Linked DNA regions of Homo sapiens: regions 1 and 3 are each linked to region 2. Evidence: promoter capture Hi-C in human tissues and cell types (Jung and others, 2019). All regions are on one chromosome and are shown on one strand. Each heading gives the region's core, a stretch centred on a gene start or on the middle of the fragment in contact. The rest is flanking DNA. Distances are from core to core; before and after follow the strand shown. Region 1 overlaps FERMT2 (FERM domain containing kindlin 2). Region 2 holds the start of FERMT2 (FERM domain containing kindlin 2). Region 3 overlaps FERMT2 (FERM domain containing kindlin 2).

Region 1 (3,999 bases), core at 293-2,792, 33 kb before region 2:
GTAATCCCAGCTACTTGGGAGGCTGAGGCAGAAGAATTGCTTGAACCCGGGAAGTGGAGGTTGCAGTGAGCCAAAATCACGCCATTGCATTCCAGCCTGGGCAACAGAGCGAGACTCGTCTCAAAAAAAAAAGAAGAAGAAAAGAAAAAAAAAAGAAATAAGCTATCAAGCCACAAAAAAACATGGAGGAAACTTAAATGCCTATTACGAGGTGAAAGAAACCAATATGAAAAGGCTACATACTGTATGAGTCCAAACATATGATATTCTGGAAAGGGCAAAACTAGGTAAAAGGATGAGTGGTGGTGATGAGGAGAGAGGGATGAATAGGCAGAGCACAGAAGATTTTTAGGACAGTCAAACTATTCTGTACAATACCACAACAGTAGATACACGAGTATATATTTTTCCAAGCCCACAGCATGTACAACACCAGAAGTGAACCCTAACATAAACTACTGTCACTGAGTGATAATGGTATGTCAAGGTAGGTTCACCAGTTACAATAAATGTACCATTCTGGTACAGACTTTGAGAGTAGGGAAGGTTGTGCATGTGTGAGGACAGAGGGTATGTGGGAATTCTCTGTACTTTTGCTCAACTTTGCTGTGAACCTACAACTCCTGTAAAAACTACAGTTTATTAATTTCTCAAAAATGGACAAATGATATAAACAATTAAAAAAAGGAACTTAGATGTCCAATAATGATTTAAAAACATATTTAGCTTTGTAAACTAAAACAAAATACTGTCTTTTTCTCTTGGAAACAAAAACAACAAAACAGACCATAATCAAGTGTTAGTGAGGATTTGTGGCAACGGGTTTTCATACATTGCTAGTTGGAATATAAACTGGTATAACCAACTGGGAGACAATTTGACAGTACTCTGAAATGAATTATGTATATATTTAAAACAGCAATTTTACTTCTACTTCTAGGTGGATACTCGAGAGAAATTCTTGCACACACGTACAAAACTTAGTAAGAAAATACCTACGTGGTAATGGCAATAACATATACAGTTTATGGATATATACACACAGAGATACGTGTGTGTGTGTGTGTGTGTGTGTATGTGTGTGTCTGTGTATTTTACAGTACTGGATACACACTGAACTTATGATAGTAGTTGCTTTGTAAAGGGAAGTTAGGATAATGAGACTCAAGAATTTTACCAGTATTACTTTGACTTCAAGTCATATTTGTCATTTGACAAAATGACAAAATATCAACAATTATTAATTCCAGATAATGGGAATTTGGTATTCTTTGTATTTTTCTCTATTTTAATAATAATAATAAAAACCCTGTTTCACTTTAAAAAAAATTTCAAGGGCATTAGATCAAAAAGGCAATGTGAATCTACCTGTATCTCCCCTCCTACATCCCGAATCCCCTGAAATGACAGCAAAAGATATTTAAAAATTGTAGGCGGGGAGGGAAGATGAACATCCATAACAGTGCTAGGAGACAGGAAACTACAGTAAGAGGGTAAATAATGAGTGATTCTTGAAGACAGAAAAAAGTTGGTATTGGTTTAAGGGAAGCCACAGCCCAAACTAAACACAAGAAATGGGTGAGGATTCAGACTCCTCCAAGCTCCAAGCCTACAGGCATAAGCAGCAGGCAGGGCTCTGGGTTAAGAGGTAGGTAGTCTCAGCACCTCCATACTGTCCACAGGTCAGTGCTTGAGGCATTGTACAGGAGCAGCATTTGCCCACAGGCTCTAGCAGTGAGTGTGGGTGCTGACACCAGCAAGGAAGATTGGGTACTCTGGCGCTAGCCCAACTAAAATATTTTCAAATGTTTTCAGCAATATTTAAAACATTTGAAAATGTTGCAGCATTTGCTCTAAGAGTGAAGCAACCTAACTGATCATTAACAGGGAAATGTGGTTATAAATTATACTTGATCTTAGCCAAAAAGGCCAAGAAGTAATTGGATGTAAATTAATAGTACGTCTATACTCTGAATTACAGCTTAAAAGAATGTATAACACATAGAAAGATCTCTAAGACATTACTAAGTTTAAAAAATACATATAAAATGCTCCTATTTATTAAAAAAAATCCGATATGTATGGACAAATAAATGCATAGAAAATCACCAAACTGTCAAGAATGATTACTTAGGGGAAGGGGGAGCTTACTATGTATGTCTATATTCATTGATTCTTTTACAACAGAGTGTATTTATAAATTACTAGTATAATTTAAAAATTTAACATGAATAAAAAACTGCAGTACTTTATTTGGAATTAAAATATGAGAAGTCACTAAATGTATCTTTAACCAAGAATTTCTCAAATAGGAAAAAATACAGCAGAGTTCTGCACTAGTGGTAGTGACAGCAGTTCACATTTTCTCAGATGGTTGAATACTTCCTGTCATATGACATAACTGGGTCAGCCAAAGTAACCCACATCTCATTTCAGAATGCATAAATAGAAATACTACAGAGATGTTCAAATTGTAGACTGGTGAAGGAAGACAACACTCATAGTCATTTCCTTAGGAGCTGTGTCAGGCCTTCAATGGAGGAAGTGACACAATCTGCCTGAATCACTAAAATCAAATAGTGACTTATGTGAAGGAAACATTGCAAAGCCATGTATGTTCCCCTGAAAATAGTGCCTGTTCCTTTAACCTCTCCATAAAAATAAAGTATTAAATATCAGATACAATTCTAGTAAGGAAAGAATCTCTACTAGGTTCTTCCTGTTCCACCTTAACCCAGCATTTATCTTAATATAAAAACTTTAATGAAGTAGAAATTTCACACACATACATATATACAGATAGTTCAGCCCATGCCCCATCCCTTGGGATAAGCTATGTCAGTCATCGGTCATCTGTACATCACATAACTCGTATTTTAAGAAGAATTTATGTAATACTTACTAAAAGTCTTACAGATGTCAGAAACAGCTTTGAAGACTCTATCAGAGAAATTCACTTTCACCTTCACATACTTCATGTTGGGAAGCTGCAGGCGGAGCAGTTTGTGCTGAGGGGTGAACTGAAGCTTAGCATCTGCCTGAATACCATACTTATCTAAGGTCCAATGTGTCTTCAGAAGCCAAGTTCTCTTCTTTTCCCACCAGAGAGCATGGTCAGACCAATCTTTTTTTACATCTATAAAAAACAAACAATAAACAAATCACTTAAAAATCACCAAGGTGATTTTGAGAAATTAAAAGCAGAAAACTAGATAATTGGGTATTTAACAGCAATAATTAACTACTAAGTTACTGTTATGTGACAGGTACAAAAGAAACATTAACAGCTGAGAAAACACGCTCTGTCCTGAAAAGCCAGTACACAAGGCAGCTGAGGCAGAATATATAGGGCAACTAAGAATGTTTGAGTCAACTACAAAATGGGACACATGGATGACAGAGAAAGTACCCTCTTATTCTCAGAAAACAGAATCCTGAGGGCTAGAATAGGAAGGATTAATAAAGACAAGGAGTTGGTGGGCTTGGAACTCGTCCTATAGGAATGGACAATAACATTCTGATGAGAAACTGAACAGACTGTGGTTTATGAAGTTGCAGAAATGTGTGAAGGTGAATAATGGGTGGTGAAAAGATGGGGAACCAAAGTGAACAGAGACCAATATCCTAGGTGAAGAGGAGGAACAGGGAAAACACCCATGAGAAACACTATAACTTAAGAGAAAGCTCTAAAAATAAAAAAATAAAAAACTACATTCTGGCCACATGTGCTCTCCCAAATAGATCCCCGAAAATGGATCTAAAGTCACACTGCCCAACATTTTTCTCTGAGCACGTTTTGGTACAAGTATAACAGGAAACATTAATATCTGTTCAACTATTTAACAGCCTTATGCAACTAAATGAAACCAAATAAAGAAAAGAATGTAATTTACACAAGATTTAGCTACCCCCAGATAAGGCAGGTCGTAACAATAAACTTGTAGCAGTAAAATCCAACTTCAACTAGTTATTTATTTACTTATGACTAGGATAGGAAGT
Region 2 (4,096 bases), core at 585-3,084:
CAAAGCAGGTCCACCCAAATGAATCCTGCCTTATTTTGCAAAATGCATCAGAGTGCTATTTCAGTACCTTTACATACAATAATCCTTTGGTAAGAAATAGATTTCCTGACAAATAAGCACTTCTCTACTTTCCCAGTGTAGCTTGAAAACGAATGCTGTGTTTAAAAAAAAAAAGAAAAAAAAAAAGACGAAAAAAACCCCCAGAAAGTCCCCAACCCCCCTTCACCAAAACAAAAAACAATTCCAGCCTAAAAAGACAATGCCACACAGATAATCATCTTATCACAACTGTATTATGTACAAAAGGCTCTTTAAAGCTCAGGAAGATAGTTCTCTGAGCATTTCTCTTATGATCAAATCATCTATTTAGCTGACTCTTCCAGATGAAAATGGTTTCATTCATCACAAAAATGTGTACTGCACACTCTTCACACACTTCATACTGTAAGATACCTTATTATTTTAAATCGGATATCAATCCAATACATATTTGTACTCAAGCAAACACCGTCAACCTCAAATTAGTTTAACAAAGTCTGCTTTTTAACACAAAGTTCTTTCCTTGGCTTGTTATTAATATAAAACCGAACGCTCGAAACGGCTTACATCGAGCATGGACTATGGATACCAAGTTTGTCAAGCACTGCCCCACCCCTAGTAAGAGTGGATGACTGGAACATTTTAATGCACTCCACCACGTAGAACAGCCACAGAAACTTCACACTGGCGCCAGTAGTTGCACATTTTCCAGCACAGATTTTTCTTAAATGGATTTTGCATCATTCTCTATACCAAACGTCACTAACATTCAGGTATGCTGAAGACATAGATAACCACGGACACTGTAATATCACCCTCCCAACACACTTTCCTCATTCTTTTATCGTTCTGTCAGTAAATGTTAAGAATTAACGAGTTCCCCGGCACACATCCCCCGTCCCGCGTAACTACGCAATTAAGGTTATAATTGGGAGGCTCGAATCATTACATATGAAAATTCAGAGAATAGCAAAACAAAATAAGACGCAAAGGGGAACAGGTCTATCTGCTTAAATACTGAAAGATTTTACATCTCCAAAAAGCATTTGCGAGATGCCAAGATTTCTCAAATGGGCCCCTCCCCCGTCGTGAGCCTCTTTCCTCCCCCTACCAATTCTGGGAAGTCATTAGTTGGACGCGGCTGGGATGCTACTCACCGAGTTTCTCCACCAGCTTAAGCATCACGCCTCCAATGTGCACCTCGCCGGTCACTCTCAGGGTGACATCGCGGTTCAGGTCCGTCACATGGACACTCAGTTCCCACGTCCCGTCCGCGTAGCAGCCATCTGGCATCCTTATCCCGTCCAGAGCCATGGCTCCTTCCTGCGAGCGCGGAGGAAATGGCTCTCGTAAGCGTCACTCCCCCAAAGAAAGGCGAATCCCACCGAATTCGCAGCGCCGGCCACGGGCTGGGAGGTGGTGGAGGACCCGGGGCTTTCGGCAGAAACTCGGGAGGGCGGCGGCGGCCGGGGCTGCGGGAGGACCCTACGCCCCGCTCGCCCCGCAGCGTTCCTCGGTCCCGGCGCCGCCCGCCCCACACCGTCCCCGCCTAGCGGACCGCGGAGGGCTTCACCTGCCGGCCGGCCCCGAGACACAGCGCGGGCTGACTCCCCGTTCCCCTCCCCGCCGCGCCCCCTCGGGTCCCGGCGGGGTCCCGCTCCCTCACCGCGCGCTCCTAGCGCTCCGGGCCCGGGACTCGCGCGGCAACAGGCGAGGGGCTGGAGGCTCGCGGGGCGGCGGTGTCCGCGTCCGGTTCCTCGGCTGGCGAAGCGCTGCCTGTGGCCGGAGCGGCTAATGGAGTCCCGTCGTCGCGGCCCCTCGCCTGGCTCCCCGCGCTCCACCCTCTCCCCGCCCCCTCTGTCCGAGCCTGGCTGGGCTGGGCGCGCTGGCTCCCTCCTTCGCCGCCCGCAGAGCTGCCCTGAGCGGGTCCGGCCGGCCTCGCCTCTGCCCCCGCCCTCCCGGCGCCGCGCTCGGGGGAGGGGGCTGCGGGTCCCGGGCGGGGCGGGGCGGCGTGGGGCGGGGCGGCGCGGGGGTGGCGGGGGGCGCGGCGGGGCGGCAATCTCGGCCCCGCGGAGCGCTGCCCTTTTATGGAAATGAAGGACCCGGCTCAGGAATTGAATCCAACATCCGGGCTCTAGGCGGCGGGCCCTGAGGAGGGGGAGCGGGGGAGCGCGGGCGGCCTTTCCCGGGGCGCTGGTGGCCGGCGGGGCGTCTAGAGCTCAGGCTGGACTGGGGCCCCCGCGGCGTGTGTCCGCGCTGGCAGCAGGGAGAGGGGGCTTGTCCGTGAGAAACGGCCCCAGGAAATTCCCAGGGCAAGGTCGTTTTCGGAGAACAAAGTCCTCTCGCCCCCTCCCCACGCCTGCAGCGAGACAAAAAGCCTCAGGGAGGTGAGAGGTGCCGCACCCCGGGAGCTGGAGAGAGGAGTCTGGGACGGAGAAACTTTAAAAAGTAAATGCCCAAACCAACTCCTTGAATGTCCTACAAAAGAATAAGAAAACCCCGAGGGAGGTGAACCACAAAAATTGCTTTGCAAGCAATGTCCGGCACCATCAGCAACTCCTACTGGACTCCCAGGAGTTTGCAAGCGTTCTTAACCCCTTCGGACGCTCCAGCCAGATGCCAGTCAAACAGATGATGCTCTTGCCTGAGGGGAAAGGAAAGACACAACCTAGTGCCACAGGTTTTACTCAGAAACTGTTTCCCCAGCTTCTCCAGCTCTTTGTACTTATTTGTGTGTTTTTATATGCAAGTTAGAACTAACAGTCTATTAAAGCTGTTAGATGGAGATACATGTTCCATCCCACCCTCAGCCACACCTTGGATTTTAATACTTCTGGAACGGTGCCTGCAGGTACCAGGAAGAGCTAAACAACTTCACCTGTTGAAGACTGGCTAGTGATGGGGAACGGTCCTCCTGCTTCCCGCTTTTGTTTCCACTTCCCCCATTAACTGTTGTACTCTGTTGAGGGAACTCCTTTCAGAAACAGCAAACCAGAGAAACTGCCTCGCTAGCAAATTCATGGGCTCAGAAAATAAACGTCAAGAAGGCTCAGATTAAAATACCTTTTAAAGATAAAAGACTCCAGTTCGCAGTCTCATAATCTTGTCGAATTGTCTCAAACGCTTGGAAAAGGAACTCGCTAGGCAGATAACCTTTTGTTCATTAACATTACTGGGAAACAAGATGAGAGGCCTCAAGAAAGGGGTGGAACTCAGAAAGGAGTGAAAGCAGCAAAATTTAGTCAGATGCCAAAGGCTTGGCAGAAAAAAAAATAGGGAAAACCACTACAGTGTTTTTAGCTAGTTATCATGGAGAAATTGATGCCTTCAGTCTCTTATCTGTCTACTCTCCAATATTTCTACTCGTGGACGTTCCAAATAGTTCACTTGAAAGCAATATGAATGTCCGGAGATGAGGGAGTTTATGTAAATTATGGGGTTGAAAATATACAGGAAAATGTTTTTAATAAATTAAGGAATTGCTTGTTAGGGCACAAAACTGCAGAACTGGATATGCAGCTATAAAATTAAGAGCTTATTTACGTTAAATGTTCAGAGAAAAAGACTGTAAGGAAATACAGCAAAATGTTAAGAAGCTCTCTGGGTCTTGAGATCACGGAAGTTTTTTCTTTCTTTTATTCTTTATTTTCTGCCAACTCAAAAACTTTACACCACCACCTAGAATTGCATCCAGCATTTCAGTTTCTCTGTACATGCCATGACATTCACGATGATAGACACTGGATACAGCAGCTACTGACTGAACGATGGACAGGATTTTCAGAGGTTTCCTTTGGTGTTTTTTAAATAGTTCTAAAGAAAACTTGAGTTCTTTAAGAGCAGAGATTTCAAATTATTTTCATTGTCCACAAATTCACAATAGCTTGGTACAGAGAAAATGGAAAACATGCTGGTGTCAAACCAACACAAATGTCAAAGAAACAGTGGGTCTGTTCCATGGAGAAATCTCAGGGGCCAGGTACAGTGGCTCATGCCTATAATCCCAGCACTTTGGGAGGCTGAGGCAGGAGGATCACTTGAGCCCAGGAGGTGGAGG
Region 3 (3,677 bases), core at 738-3,237, 50 kb before region 2:
ATCAATAATAATAATATTAAAAATACATGCTGGGACCATATCCCCAGATTTTTGCAGTAGCTCAGGGCTCTAGCGGCTTGTTTTATATAAGTTCTGTAGGCAATTCTGATTCCAGCTTTTATTTATTTATTTTTTTTGAGACGGAGTCTTGCTCTGTCGCCCAGGCTGGAGTGCAGTGCCACAATCTCAGCTCACTGCAACCTCTGCCTCCTGGGCTCAAGCGATTCCCCTGCCTCAGCCTCCGGAGTAGCTGGGATTGCGGGCGCCCGCCACCACACCCAGCTAAGTTTTTGTATTTTTAGTAGAGACAGGGTTTCACCGTATTAGCCAGGATAGTCACGATCTCCTGACCTAGTGATCTGCCCTCCTCGGCCTCCCAAAGTGCTGGGATTACAGGTGTGAGCCACTGCACCTAGCCTCCAGCTTCTTGATAATCACTAGTTTAGGGAAGGGAGAGAATGAAGGGTAGCAAGAATGACTTATTTTTCTAATGGTAGGTAGTTCCATATTGGAACTGGGTAGCCATTGGCTGCATATGAAGTGTGAAAAAGTGGTTTGCATTTCATTACAACAATAACAAAGTAAACCTAACTCTCCACATTAAGATACTGATCATTTCACTGACATGAGAATTTAGGACTTACTGATTTACTGTATGCCTTGTATCAAGAAGTAATTAACAGACTTAGAAATCTGTATAAGATTTCTAAATGTGTAAGAGTGGGGCTGGAGAAGAACATAAGTAAGTAAACAAGATTTATACCAAAATAAAACATACCCAGAGGACTGTGAGACATGAAAACTTTAAAATAGCCATACCAAAATACTATACTAATTTATGCTCAATTTTACATTTCAATAAGGATAAGCTAGCATTTATGAGGCACTACACAAAGCAATGCTCCAGAACCTCTATAACAGAATATATAGCAATGTTTTTTTTTGTTTGTTTGTTTGTTTTAAAGATAGGGGCTCACTGTCACCCAGGCTGGAATGAAGTAGTGTTAGTGTGCTCACAGGTCACAGCAGCCTCGACTTCCCAGGCTCAGGCAATCCTCCTGCCTCAGCCTCCCAAAATACTGGGAATGCAGCAGGCCTGAGCCACTACACCCAGTGATAGCAACGAAATTTAATGTTCATTATAATTAGCATGTTATCAAACAGAAGATGAATCTAGTCTAATCTACACAGGCTATATAAATACTATACATATAAAAAAGCATGAGGGTGAGGGGAATTGAGAAACTGAGGTAAAGAAGGGTTCTCAGGGAAGATAAAGCGTTTCTGGTTAAAAAAGTATATTGAATACGTGCATTTATTTTCACTCCTTTCAAAATCACGTAAAAAATAAAGAAAACATAAACCTATAAGGGCCCCCAAAATGGAAGAAAATATGGGATAAGAAATCTCAGAAAAGTTTTGGGAAGCAGAAGTCAGATGGAACAGTAACTTTGTAAACTGGAGAAATATAAAACCAAGGTGTTTGTAGAAGGAGGTACCAATGGGTAACACCCTGATTCACTGTTCTAATCATCAAACTGAGGCACAGAAAACAGATAGACTACCTGAAAAAATTTAGTCCGCCCCAGCATCCCTTTCCTGTTCCATTACTGAATTAAACTCAGGTAACCTACTCCACAGACACACACCCTTTAGGATCCTTTACAAACAGAACCTGAATAGCCCTAGGGAAAAGATCTTTTAGATAGTGATGTTTGAAAAAGCTTGCTCAATATGTCTAAATACCTTACAGAGGGATGATGAGCTAAACTCCACCCAATATAGAGCTTCCTATTAGGTACTGATATTGCCCCAGGCCAGGCGCAGTGGCTCATGCCTGTAATCCTAGCACTTTGGGAGGCCGAGGCGGGCGGATCACGAAATCAGGAGATGGAGACCATCCTGACTAACGTGGTGAAACCCCGGTCTCTACTAAAAATACAAAAAAAAAAAAAAAAAAAAAAAAAATTAGCTGGGCGTTGTGGCGGGCGCCTGTAGTCCCAGCTACTCCGGAGGCTGAGGCAGGAGAATGGCTTGAACCCGGGAGGCGGAGCTTGCAGTGAGCCGAGATCGCGCCACTGCACTCCAGCCTAGGCGACAGAGCGAGACTCTGTCTCAAAAAAAAAAAAAAAAAAAAGCCCCAGCATTAAACATAGGAACAGCCAGCCAATGATTACTAGACACTTGAGAAAGGCTTCTGGGGTGGGCAGAATACTGAAGTTTAATATCCCTACCCATGGTTACACAAACACCAATCTAGGTACTGCTGTGAGGAGTTTTTGCAAATGAATTAAGATCACTTATCAAATGATTTTAGGGAGATTATCCTGGGTTATCTGGGTGAGCCCAACGTAATCACATGAGGCCTCCAGCACAGAAGAGGCAGGAAGAAGAGAGATGAGACAGAAGGAGTGGTCAGATAAATTCAGACAGAAGACCTTGACTTGCTGTTACTGGCTTTGAAGATAGAGGAAGGGGGCAACAAGCAATGTGGAGAGCCTCTAGGAGCTGAGAATGACCCCTAGCAGACAAGCCAGAGGGAATCTTAGTCTTACAATCACAAAGAACCAAATTCTACCAAGCAAAATTCATTCTCACAGCCTCCAGGAAGGAACGCAGCCCTGCTGACACCTTAACTTCAGCCACTTAAGAGTCTATAGAGGACACAGGTGAGCCACGTGTACACACCTTTAACCTACAGTGACTGTGAGATAAATTCGTGTTGTTTCAGGCTGCTAAATTTATGGTAATTTGTTATGGCAGCAATGCAACACCAACAAACCTTCTAACAGGAAAGACAGAGACCAAACAAAAAGAAAAATAACTTATGAGAAACAGACACAATGCAGACTACAGAGAACAAAACACAACGTGCTTAATGAAGAGGCTGAGAAAAAGACAATGACATCTAGAAGAGATAAACAGGATAATATAAAAAACAATGAGAGGCCGGGCACGGTGGCTTACGCCTGTAATCCCAGCACTTTGGGAGGCCGAGGTGGGTGGATCACTTGAGGTCAGGAATTCAAGATCAGCCTGGCCAACATGGTGAAACCCTGTCTCTACTAAAAATACAAAAATTAGCTGGGCATGATGGCGTGCATCTGTAGTCCCAGTTACTCAGGAGGCTGAGGCAGGAGAATTGCTTGAACCTAGGAGGCGGAGGTTGCAGTGAGCCGAGATTGCACCATTGCACTTCAGCTTGGGCGACAACAGCAAAACTCTGTCTCAAAACAAAAACAAAAAAAAAAGAGAGAGAGAGATTAAGAGACTTTAGATATTAACAACAGAGGGGGAAGGGTCCTTTCCATTATTTTCACTATTCTGTTGAAGTATAACTTATATAAAGTCCACAAATCTTAAATATATTTAAGAATACCTATATAACAAACATCCAGATAGAAATATAAAACACTGAAAACTGGCCAGACACAGTGTCTCATGCCTGTAATCCCAGCACTTTGGGAGGCCGAGGCGGGTGGATTACCCAAAGTCAGGAATTCGAGACCAGCCTGGGCAACATGGTGAAACCCCATCTCTACTAAAAATATAAAAATGAGCCAGGCATGGTTGTGAGTGCCTGTAATCCCAGCTACTTGGGAGGCTGAGGCAGGAGAATCACTTGAACCCAGGAGGTGGAGGCTGCAGTGAGCTGGGGTCACACCACTGTACTCCAG

Evidence for each region. The method cuts DNA at HindIII sites, captures the fragments that hold promoters and counts their contacts. A contact is called where the count stands out against the background at its distance.
Region 1: a fragment that was not itself captured here is called in contact with the fragment with the promoter of FERMT2 in region 2 in 2 of the 25 tissues and cell types used here (aorta and liver).
Region 3: a fragment that was not itself captured here is called in contact with the fragment with the promoter of FERMT2 in region 2 in 1 of the 25 tissues and cell types used here (stomach).

What each region holds. Positions count from the first base shown.
Region 1 is chr14:52,916,221-52,920,219 of GRCh38, forward strand. It overlaps FERMT2 (FERM domain containing kindlin 2), which reads right to left. Exons shown (of 15, transcript NM_006832.3): 3 at 2,903-3,136. The region is part of intron 2 of LOC105370500 (a long non-coding RNA gene); the gene reads left to right. Among named protein-coding and RNA genes, the nearest start is that of FERMT2, 33 kb to the right of the region's middle. RefSeq lists an enhancer at 2,399-2,508. The HindIII fragment of the contact is 5,591 bases long and covers 1-3,999 here.
Region 2 is chr14:52,949,216-52,953,311 of GRCh38, forward strand. It overlaps FERMT2 (FERM domain containing kindlin 2), which reads right to left and starts at 1,835. Exons shown (of 15, transcript NM_006832.3): 1 at 1,706-1,835; 2 at 1,197-1,362. The coding sequence starts at 1,353. RefSeq lists a silencer at 1,604-1,813 and an enhancer at 2,534-3,112. The HindIII fragment of the contact is 21,614 bases long and covers 1-4,096 here.
Region 3 is chr14:52,899,164-52,902,840 of GRCh38, forward strand. All of the region lies in intron 3 of FERMT2 (FERM domain containing kindlin 2), which reads right to left. All of the region lies in intron 2 of LOC105370500 (a long non-coding RNA gene), which reads left to right. Among named protein-coding and RNA genes, the nearest start is that of FERMT2, 50 kb to the right of the region's middle. The HindIII fragment of the contact is 5,006 bases long and covers 1-3,677 here.